Linked DNA regions of Homo sapiens: region 1 is linked to region 2. Evidence: promoter capture Hi-C in 16 types of primary human blood cells and fetal thymus (Javierre and others, 2016). All regions are on one chromosome and are shown on one strand. The core of a region is centred on a gene start or on the middle of the fragment in contact, and the rest is flanking DNA. Distances in the headings are between cores, read along the strand shown.

Region 1 (5,953 bases), core at 3,285-5,784, 1.1 Mb after region 2:
CTATCCCATACCTGGGAGGAAAAAAAATAAAAAGCTACAACAGAGAGGCCAAGAAGAATCTGGACAGACAGGCCTTGGTGGGTTTCCTCACTCAACTACCATTAGCTCATAACCTTTTTGTCCAATCGCATTTCTACATGACTGTCCTGGCTTCATTGAACCTAAGCATAAAATCATACAGCTTCTCCTGTATCTTTGGGTCTTCAATCTGAAAGCCATTGTTGAATAAAAGTCTAATCAAATAAATTTGTTATCCATTTCTCTTGTTAAACTGTCTTTTGTTATAAGAGTGTCAGCTGCAACTTTAATGATGGGAAGGAAAGGGATAATCCTCTTTCTGCCCCTACACAGCCATTCATGTTAATATAGATTGCTTCATTTAACTAGCTCAGATGAGGACAATGAAAGATTGGGCATATGGTTTGGGGCTGGGGAAAATTAACTCCAGTGTTTGGAGTAGTGATAACGGAGGTTGGGGGGAAAATGGAGTGGTATGGCTAACTAAAGGGCTGTGATATCGTTTGGATATTTGTCCCAACCCAAATCGCATGTTGAAATGTAATCCTCGATATTGAAGGTGGGGCCTGGTGGAAGGTGTTTGGATCATGGGGGCAGATGCCTCATGAAGGGTTTAGGCCATCCCCTTGGTGATAAGTGAGCTGTGGGTCTGAGCTTCCCACAAGATCCGGTCCAGATGTTTCTCGTCTCTCTCTCTCCTCTCTCTCACTCCCATTTTTACCATATGATGTCCCTCTTCTTCATTCACCTTCTGCCATGACTGAAAACTCCCTGAGGCCTCCCTAGAATCCAAGCAGGTGCCAGCACCATGCTTCCTGAAAAGCCTGCAGAACTGCGAGCCAATTAAATCTCTTTATAAATTACCCAGTCTCAGGTATTTCTTTATAGCGTGCAAGCATGGCCTATCACAGGCAGCACAAAGGCCCTGGGCCCTTAAAAGGAAGGAGAAAGAGAGTAAGAATTAGTATAGGAAGGCATCGGCAAAATTCTGTAAACAGCCAGATGTTTTCTACCCTGCAGGCTGAAATAAAACATCATACACTTAAACATTTTTGAAATCTGCTTTTTGAACCAATCTTTAATCTGCCATTGAAAAGGAACCATTTTTTATTTTCATAATTTTTTTTTTTACCTGGGAGCTGAAAGGGAGACTTAGTGTAGACAAAGAAGTCACTGGGCTGAGTAAGATGGAATCTGCTGCTGCCCTACTCCTCTCCACCCAGGCAACCTGAACTTTCTGGGGAATCCAAGAGCCAAACAGGGAGATTCTGACCACCCAGAAAGGGACAAGATTCGTGCTTTACCTGAAAGAAGGACCAGGAAAGACTTCCTATGGGCCATTTCCATTGATTTTTGGGGAGACTATCTCTGATACAATGGAAATATTTTTAGTGGTTAATTTCATTTATTGCGCATATATGTTGGTAATCCTAGTGCTGGATAAACCTTGCTTTTAATAGCAATTTTCTCTTGAGCAAGCAGCTCACCATGTTTGAGCCTCGGTTTCTTTAGCTGCCAAATGAGGACACAATGATGATGTCATTATTAGAAATACATAACCAATTTTTTTTTTTTAAAAAGACATAATTGCTGATAGAGAGGAGGAGCTCAATAAATGACAGTTCTTTCTGTTTGGCACACCAAGTCTCTGCCCTTGACTGAAGAGGTTACAGATACATTATTCCAATAGTTAAGCCAATTATTGCCAATATTTATTGAGCCACCACAAAAAACCCAAGAGTGAACTGGGCACTAAGGAAGCAGAATTTAATCTCTGCATTTAGGAAGCTAGTAGTCTAGTGGAATATGGTTCAAGTACAATGCAAGGTATTTTTGGAAGTAAATGTAGAATTGTATGCTACAAACATCTAGTACTTTAGATTTTAGGAAACAGTGAATTCAAATGGAGCTGAGATCAGCACAGAATCCTTCAGGGAGGCGATGCTAGTGCCTAAGTCCTAAAGGGTGAGCATGATCTGGGTGGGTGGGAAGGTGAAAGAAGGCAATGTTCATCTTTAACCCACCATTACATGAGAAATGACTCACAAAATAACCTTGCCTCACCTCAAAGGAGGCCACAGTGTTATTCATTTTCTTGGAAAGAGAGCTAAAGTTTCCAAGGCATTTTGAAAAGAGAATTGGATGCTACACCTTTTTATGATTCAACCATTTCCAGATATGATTCCATTAAGTGCCTTTTTAAGACTTCTGCTATCATTCTCTGAAGCTCAGGGAAAAGATTCTTTGTGGTTTGACATTCCTTTTCATTTACTCTGGAGGAAAACTCACCATGAAAATTTCCATATGTTCATCTTCTCCTGTACATATTTATATCAACAGTTTCCCTTTTAACAACTTTCAAAACGTATGCTCTTTCCAAAGTTATTTTCCCTAAAAGTAATTCACCAGTAACATAATTCATAGATTACGGGGACTGCACAAAGTTATAGAGGCAGGTGTGACATTTCTACTTGGTAAAAGTCATTGTCCCAGAGCATAACAAGGGGCAAGATTTACCCACTGGCTTGAGGTATTCACATTGTTCTATTATGATCTGTGATAAACTTATCACTGCTGAAGCAGGCTGTTGGTTTTAGCAAGAGATTGTTACCATATATATTTGTGATATAAAATCCATCTTAATGAAAAAACATAGCATGTGGGTGGGCAAGAGAGGCAGTCAGTAAATGCAAAATCATGAGATTGGAAGCTATTGATTTCCGTACTCCCTCCACCCCCAGGTTCTGTGAAACTGAAATAAGAAGCAAAAGTTAAATAACATGAGAATATTTGAACTTGCAAATATCAAGCCAGGAATTTCCTAAAGAAGCATTACAGGCTTTTTATAATGAGATAGTCAATCCCATTATCCCAAAGAGTCCAGTTTAGTTTTGGCATTTACATACACTGCCTTAATAGCCTGGTGTAATTCTGAATATATGTTTTAATAGGTACATGTATGTAGGCTAAAGAAGAGACAGCATTTAACAAAAGTATGGTTTGGCCATGTTCATACTCCCTAATAGCCATAATCAAATATCTCCTCATTCTGTTGTGTGATTCTTTATATATATATATATATATATATATATATATATATATATATATATATATACTTTAAGTTCTGGGGTACATGTGCATAACTTGCAGGTTTGTTACATAGGTATACACGTGCCACAGTGGTTTGCTGCACCCATCAGCCAGTCATCTACATTAGGTATTTTTCCTAATGCTATCCCTCCCCTAACCCCTCACCCCCAACAGGTTCCAGTTTGTGATGTTCCTCTCCCTGTGTCCGTGTGTTCTCATTATTCAACTCCTAGTTATGAGTGAGAACACGCAGTGTTTGGTTTTCTGTTCTTGTGTTTGCTAAGAATGATGGTTTCCAGCTTCATCCCTGTCCCTGCAAAGGACATGAACTCATCCTTTTTTATGGCTGCATAGTATTCTATGATGTATATGTGCCACATTTTCTTTATCCAGTCTATCATTGATGGGCATTTGGGTTGGTTCCAAGTATTTGCTAATGGGCCACATACATGCTTAACCAAGGAGACTCTTCCAGAGCATCCTATGTCTTTATGCCTTTAGACCAAAGTAAATGTGTATTGGAAATAGAGATGGACCAACACCAGAAAAGCCACACTGTGATCTGAGAACATCATTTATGATCTAGAACATCATTTATCCCTCTGCCATGTTTTCATGCTTGAAATGAAGAGGTAGACTAGAAAACCTCTAAGGTTCCACCATCACTGATTTCTTGCTAAGATTAAGAAGAATCAATGGAAATTAGCATGGACCATCTACAAAGGAGAGCTCTTGATGTGCTCCTCACTGCATGAAGCACAGCTCAAGCATTTTCCCACTTTCAACTCTTGGGCTGTTGGCCAAGATAAATGAGTTGCTATGTGGAAAGCACTGAACACATAGCTCTCTAAAATTTAAAAGAAAAAAAAAAGGAAAAGAGAAAGGGGCCCTATTAAGCAGGTACTGTTATTTTCCCTATTTTATAAAAGAGGAAATTGAGGTTGTAGATAGGTAAAATATTCCGCCCAAGGCCACCCAAATAACATGGCATGAAGCCATGACTCAAATTTAGGGCCCTCAAATCCAAAGTTCACATTGAATTGCTGTTTATAAATCTGAAAGTAAGAGAGTTGCATAACCATAGAGCAAAGAAGATGCCCAACTCTTCCTGAACAACAGTATAGGTGGTCAAAAATTTTAAAGGTATTGTGTTTTGGTGATGCAAGTGGAAGAAGAACCAAAAGTAATGGTAAGCTAGAACTATTAGAGATGGATTTGGGATTTGAATTTTCAAGATGGATGTGTTCCAGGTTCATGTACTGCTGAGCAGTTAGTTACATTTAATGCTTGTTTCTCATTTTAGTTCACATACCTTTCAAATAAGAAGTATATGAAGTAAAAGCTTGGATTTGCTATGTTTATAGTCTTATTACAACTTTTAATAAAGTTGTTTCCTATGCAAAAACAAAATGGCCAAGATTCTGATCTCACAAATATAGGTTTCCTCCCTTGCTTTATTTCTTGATCCATTCGTCTTTCCATTTATTTATTCAAAAGCACAACTATTAAACAAAGCTTTAGGGATACTCAGAAGAGAAAGGGGGATGTATTGCTGGGGAATTAAGGAAGGTTTTTCAAAGGAAATGCAGGTTGAATTTGGTATTGATGAAGGAGAAGGAGTTCACTGAATATCCAAAAGGGAAGCGAGTCAGGGGTTGGCATTTCAGACAGTGTTCCGGGGATGATTACAGATAAGATGGCTTTTTTGAGATGGTGAAAAGTTCAGGAGGTGGTTGAAGGCTACGGGGATAGGATGAGAATTTCTTGCTATGTAGGAGTGAGAGAAGGACACCGTGCGATGACAGACAAAGTAAGTTTTGAACCATACACTAAAGGGTTTGAGTTGAATGGAGAATTTACGTTAGAAAGTAAATTGAAAGGGATTTTCAAAGGAAGGATGGAATCATTCCACTGGGTTCGGATGAGGGGAGTTCAGACTGGTTTCCTGGTTGTAAGAAAAGGAATTCATTCTACGCTGTAAAATGTTATTCCAATGATAAATTCTCTCACTAGCATATCCACTTTGAAAAACAACGTTATGAACTTCCCTGCCCTGTAATTCAGGAACCATAGAGATTTAGATCATGCATCTTTGAAGTGTTCCCTACAGTGTAATACTGGCCACCCAGCCTGCAGCATCTGCTCCGTCTGTGTCCAGTTTCCTTCTCTTGCACCACGACCGATGCAGCTCTTCTTTTTTGGTGTACCTCAAATTCAGAAGCACACCACTTCTGCCTCCTTTTCAGGCTGGCTTTCTCCATTCTTCTCATTCTTGCTCCTTCCCCTCTTTCCTTCTTTCTTTGTACTCATTTTCCTCCCACCCTCTGTTCTTCCCACTTTCCCTCCCTCCTTTTCTTCCTTCCTTCCTTTCTTTTAAAATCAAGTGAACACAATTATCCCCGTTTTCCAGATGAGGAAACATAAAGAAATGAAGTGACTTGCCCAGGGTTGCTGATCTCTATTCTATCTGCATTCTCCTGAACTGCCTTTACCCTATATTTTAGAAATGGATTTTAAGGGCAATATTTAGAAATCAAAAATAAAACTAAATTTTAAAAAAACTAAAATTTCTCAAAGAACTTACACTATTTCACGGGTAGGACAAAACTATAGGCCAAAAAGAAAGCTTCAGATTTCCATATAACATGCCAATTGTATATTTTGCCATATAATTATTATTGATCAGAAAATATTGAGTTTTTTGCTACTTTTTAAAATTAAAAACTGTGATTTCCTTGTAATATTGTGACTCATAAGATAATACTGAATTTAAAAAAAAGTCTACCACTATATGACAAATACACAGTTTTCATTTTCTCATATTCCCATTTTATTCCATTCAAAT
Region 2 (5,930 bases), core at 2,943-5,442:
TGCCTTTGAAAAGAAAGTCAGAAGCCATAGCTTGGGATCTCTGCAGATCCCTAAAAGAATAGATTCCTATTCTACTGACTTTCTATGAAGATCAAATTGTAAAAAGCAAAAGTTTCTCTCCAAGGGTTTCCTTTGCAGTGACCTGTATGTCCAACCACGCAAGGGCCCATTGTGGGGACATATGTTGTCCAAAAGGACCATAGCAGAGACAGGCCAGTGAGCCAAAGTGTGGAAACTTTTGAGACTGGCTTGAGCTTGGCACTTATAGAACAATAAACCAAGCCTTTGAAGGGGTTCAACAAAGGAACCATTTGTCCACTCTAGTAGCTACAAAGTAAGGCAGGGTTGCAGCAAAGAACAAAAAAATAAAAGAAGGCCAAGCTGGAGGTATGACCAAAGTTTACTAGGTCCATTCTGAGACCTTCTGCTAGGGTCTGAGATCTAGAAGACAGTGAATAAGGAAACAAACCCAAAACTCAACGCAACACAGGATATGGAAGCTCTCAGGCCTGACGTTAACAGCATCTACTATTTTTCTTCTCAGCTACTTTAATGAATGCAGTATACTAAAAGCCAGGAGGGGAAGGGACAACACTAAGCAAAAAACATGCATTTTTTAAAATGCACAGATTTTCTTCACTGCCGTTTTTGTTATCATTCCTATGAATTAGTGATGCCGAATTTCATTTTCTCATCTGCTGAAGAGCTTTCCTGTGTTCCTCTCGTTGGAACACATGCTTGGCATTAAAATGCTTGTGAGAACTTCTCTTCCTTTAACGTTCCCTGGCTAGCTTGGTTTTTAATCTAACAGCCCTTCTTTCAAAATGATCCTTCCACTGGAGATAGATATTTATCATTCTCTTCCTTCACCTCATCTCTTGACAGGCCGCACGTGACTTGAAGGAATTTTTCAAATAGCAGCTCAGCCACCCTGAGGGGCTTCAGTCTCACCCCTAAGTTCGCTGGCTTTTTCTTCACCACGTCCAGTTGCTTTCCATCTTATTAACTGCTCTTTTCACTAGAGGACCAACTCAGTAGGAAATTTTTTGAGAGGTGGAGAAAGAGATGTTCAAAGAAGGTGTTGGGGTCGGGGGAAACTGGTTTTATTTTATACAAGTCACACATTCTGAATCTTCCCTTTTGTGTCTCTGGGGAGAAAGGAGAAAGTTTGATCAAATCGCTCATTATTTCTGCACTTCTTTCTTTTTTCCTAAGTATAAAAATATATGACTACTACTACTGTGAGACTATGTGATTGTGAGAATGAATGATTCTTTTTTTTTTTTTTTTTTTTTTGAAACGGAGTCTCTCGCTGTCACCCAGGCTGGAGTGCAGTAGCACGATCTTGGCTCACTGCAACATCTGCCTCCCGGGTTCAAGCAATTCTCCTGCCTCAGCCTCCTGAGTAGCTGGGACTACAGGTGCGCTCCACCACCCCCAGCTAATTTTTGTATTTTTAGTGGAGACGGGGTTTCACCATGTTGGTCAGGCTGGTCTTGAACTCCTGACCTCATGATCCTCTCACCTCGGCCTCACAAAGTGCTAGGATTACAGGCGCATGGCCAAGAATGAATGATTATTTGTGCCTTCCTATGTGAAAAAAAAATGTTTCCTCTAGCTACACACTATTCTGTTCTGTGAGGCCGCCCCATCAGACTGTTGACCTAGAGTCCCAACCCCGGCCCTCCAGGAGACCTGCCTGTTCTTAGAAGCCCAACCCACTCAGCAGCAGCTCCAAATAACAGGGGGAGCCAACAAAAAAGAGTGCTGCTAGAGCAACAAGCAAGGGGCAATTAGTCAGAAGGCAACTTCCATGGTCTTCCAAAAAAAATTGAGGTGAAAGACCAAAGATGTCCCTAAAATGTCTTCCTAAAAGATAAACTTCATCAACTACCTCTGACTGGTCAGTATTAAGAACCACTTTCAGGCCAGGTGTCATGGTTCACGCCTGTAACTCCATCTACTCCAGAGGCTGAGGCAGGACAATTGCTTCAGGCCGGAGGATTGCTTGAGGCCAGGAGCTGGAGACCAAGCCTGAGCAACACAGTGAGACCTCATCTCTACCAAAAATGTACCTCTATTAAAAAACAAAAAAGAAGAAGAAGAAGAAGAAGAAGGAGAGGAGGCTGGGTATGGTGGCTAATGCCTTTGTAATCCCAGAACTTTGGAAGGCTGAGGCAGGAGAATCACTTAGGCTGAGGCAGGAGAATCACCAGAGTCTAGGAGTTTGAGACCAGCCTGGGCAACATAGTGAGACCCCCATCTCTACAAAAAAAAAAATTCAAAAATTAGCCAAGCGTGGGGTTTGTGCCTGTAGACCCAACTACTCAGGAGGCTCAGGTAGGAGGATCACCTGAGTCCAGGGAGGTCGAGGCTGCAGTGAGTCATGATTATTCCACTGCCTTCCAGCCTAGACTACAGGGTGAGACCCTGTCTTAAAAAAAAAATTAAAGAAGAAAAAACTCTCTTTTCTTTTCTTTCTTTCTTCTTCTTCTTTTCTTTTTTTTTTTTTCTTTTTTTTTTTTTAGAGATGGCACGTCACCACATTGCCCAGGCTGTTGTCGAACTCCTGGCCTCAAACGATGCTCCCACTTGAGCCTCCCAAAGTGCTGGGACTACAAGCATAAGCCACCACACACGGCCTTTTCCTTTCTTTTTCTATTTCTCAATGGATTTTTCCAATGGACACGTATCACTTTGGTAGTTATACATGATACTAGTTGTAATCTCAGCCATTTTTCAACCCAGCAAATGTCTATTCTAGGTCAAATATGTCTCAAAAATTACTAAAAGAAAATCAGTTATGTCCTTTAACCTGGCTGAGGTCTGGCTTTGTTTTCTCTCATGTAAAAATGGAGATGGCACAAAACAACTCCAAGCTGTTACTTGAAAGTAACACCTCAGGTGATGTCACCAGCCTGAGGGAGAGTGAGGTTAAGTTCTGAACCCACAGGCATTATATCTGCCTGGGGTTCACATGCCCTACACTGGACTGGCATAATTTGAGAGTCAGATCCGAAGATGTGGTATATCCGCCATCTTTAGCAACTTTCAAAAACTACCCTATGAGGTCAAGCTGGACCTACTTTTGGTTTTGCCATTGTTGTTTGTTTGTTGTTGAGGGTTTTCTTTGAGGGGCGGGGAGTGCATGCCCCTGTGGAGAGCACTCATTTAGCTTCAATTAGAGTAATGCCAAAAGTGCCAGATTCCTGGGAAATCAGCCTACAAGGCTCCTGCGGGAAGGAACCTCCACTGCCAGAAGTCCTTAGGGCATCTAAGTGATCAGACACCGTCAGGGATTCTTTGCCCCGTAAAAACCTACTTGACCAGGGACACGTGCCAGGTAAATTTCCTTCACATTTACTTCAACCTTATTGCATACTCATTTTAGTATTAAAACCTTTAATAAAATGCTCCTATTCCTTCACACTTTTTTTCTATGAGATCTCAAATACCCCTTCTTGCTATTAAAAAAAATCACTTATTATTCACCAGCCCAATATTTTAAAAGTAAAAATAATAAGCCAAGGCCAGGAGCGATGACTCGCACTTGTATTCCCAGCAGTTTCAGAGGCAAAGGCCGAAGGATCGCTTTAACCGAGGAGTTTGAGACCAGCCTGGGCAACATGACCAGACTGCCTCTCTACAAAAAGTTTAAAAAATTAACCGGGTGTGGTGGTGCACTGCACTCCCAGCTACTGGGCTGGGGTATCAGGCTGAGGTAGGAGGTTTGCTTTGAGCCCGGGGGGATCGAGGCTGCAGTGAGCTTTGATTGTGCCACTGCACTCCAGCCTGGGTGACAGAAGGAGACCCTGTCTCAAAAATAATAAGAATAATAATTAATAATAATAGGCCAAACCAAATACCCATCACCTTCTGCTGTGCCTCCCCTTTCCCCAATAAATCCAGTGTCTTGCTTTCAAATTTTGTGGTTAAAAAAGATGATGAGTTTCTAAGACGTGGGGGCTAAAGCTTGTTTGGCCGTTTTAGGGTTTGTTGGAATTTTTTTTTCGTCTATGTACTTGTGAATTATTTCACGTTTGCCATTACCGGTTCTCCATAGGGTGATGTTCATTAGCAGTGGTGATAGGTTAATTTTCACCATCTCTTATGCGGTTGAATAGTCACCTCTGAACCACTTTTTCCTCCAGTAACTCCTCTTTCTTCGGACCTTCTGCAGCCAACCTGAAAGAATAACAAGGAGGTGGCTGGAAACTTGTTTTAAGGAACCGCCTGTCCTTCCCCCGCTGGAAACCTTGCACCTCGGACGCTCCTGCTCCTGCCCCCACCTGACCCCCGCCCTCGTTGACATCCAGGCGCGATGATCTCTGCTGCCAGTAGAGGGCACACTTACTTTACTTTCGCAAACCTGAACGCGGGTGCTGCCCAGAGAGGGGGCGGAGGGAAAGACGCTTTGCAGCAAAATCCAGCATAGCGATTGGTTGCTCCCCGCGTTTGCGGCAAAGGCCTGGAGGCAGGAGTAATTTGCAATCCTTAAAGCTGAATTGTGCAGTGCATCGGATTTGGAAGCTACTATATTCACTTAACACTTGAACGCTGAGCTGCAAACTCAACGGGTAATAACCCATCTTGAACAGCGTACATGCTATACACGCACCCCTTTCCCCCGAATTGTTTTCTCTTTTGGAGGTGGTGGAGGGAGAGAAAAGTTTACTTAAAATGCCTTTGGGTGAGGGACCAAGGATGAGAAGAATGTTTTTTGTTTTTCATGCCGTGGAATAACACAAAATAAAAAATCCCGAGGGAATATACATTATATATTAAATATAGATCATTTCAGGGAGCAAACAAATCATGTGTGGGGCTGGGCAACTAGCTAAGTCGAAGCGTAAATAAAATGTGAATACACGTTTGCGGGTTACATACAGTGCACTTTCACTAGTATTCAGAAAAAATTGTGAGTCAGTGAACTAGGAAATTAATGCCTGGAAGGCAGCCAAATTTTAATTAGCTCAAGACTCCCCCCCCCCCAAAAAAAGGCACGGAAGTAATACTCCTCTCCTCTTCTTTGATCAGAATCGATGCATTTTTTGTGCATGACCGCATTTCCAATAATAAAAGGGGAAAGAGGACCTGGAAAGGAATTAAACGTCCGGTTTGTCCGGGGAGGAAAGAGTTAACGGTTTTTTTCACAAGGGTCTCTGCTGACTCCCCCGGCTCGGTCCACAAGCTCTCCACTTGCCCCTTTTAGGAAGTCCGGTCCCGCGGTTCGGGTACCCCCTGCCCCTCCCATATTCTCCCGTCTAGCACCTTTGATTTCTCCCAAACCCGGCAGCCCGAGACTGTTGCAAACCGGCGCCACAGGGCGCAAAGGGGATTTGTCTCTTCTGAAACCTGGCTGAGAAATTGGGAACTCCGTGTGGGAGGCGTGGGGGTGGGACGGTGGGGTACAGACTGGCAGAGAGCAGGCAACCTCCCTCTCGCCCTAGCCCAGCTCTGGAACAGGCAGACACATCTCAGGGCTAAACAGACGCCTCCCGCACGGGGCCCCACGGAAGCCTGAGCAGGCGGGGCAGGAGGGGCGGTATCTGCTGCTTTGGCAGCAAATTGGGGGACTCAGTCTGGGTGGAAGGTATCCAATCCAGATAGCTGTGCATACATAATGCATAATACATGACTCCCCCCAACAAATGCAATGGGAGTTTATTCATAACGCGCTCTCCAAGTATACGTGGCAATGCGTTGCTGGGTTATTTTAATCATTCTAGGCATCGTTTTCCTCCTTATGCCTCTATCATTCCTCCCTATCTACACTAACATCCCACGCTCTGAACGCGCGCCCATTAATACCCTTCTTTCCTCCACTCTCCCTGGGACTCTTGATCAAAGCGCGGCCCTTTCCCCAGCCTTAGCGAGGCGCCCTGCAGCCTGGTACGCGCGTGGCGTGGCGGTGGGCGCGCAGTGCGTTC

The links. The method cuts DNA at HindIII sites, captures the fragments that hold promoters and counts their contacts. A CHiCAGO score of 5 or more calls a contact.
Region 1: a fragment that was not itself captured here is called in contact with the fragment with the promoter of CASC11 in region 2 in 2 of 17 cell types (total CD8 T cells and megakaryocytes); the score reaches 7.7 in total CD8 T cells.

What each region holds. Positions count from the first base shown.
Region 1 is chr8:128,864,982-128,870,934 of GRCh38, forward strand. No RefSeq gene overlaps it. Among named protein-coding and RNA genes, the nearest start is that of LINC00976, 98 kb to the right of the region's middle. The HindIII fragment of the contact is 173 bases long and covers 4,449-4,621 here.
Region 2 is chr8:127,729,775-127,735,704 of GRCh38, forward strand. CASC11 (cancer susceptibility 11) reads right to left here and starts at 4,193. Exons shown (of 4, transcript NR_117102.1): 1 at 4,051-4,193. It also overlaps a transcript of MYC not described here. RefSeq lists an enhancer at 2,862-3,363, a cis regulatory region at 2,943-5,685 and a silencer at 4,268-4,387. The HindIII fragment of the contact is 10,989 bases long and covers 3,971-5,930 here.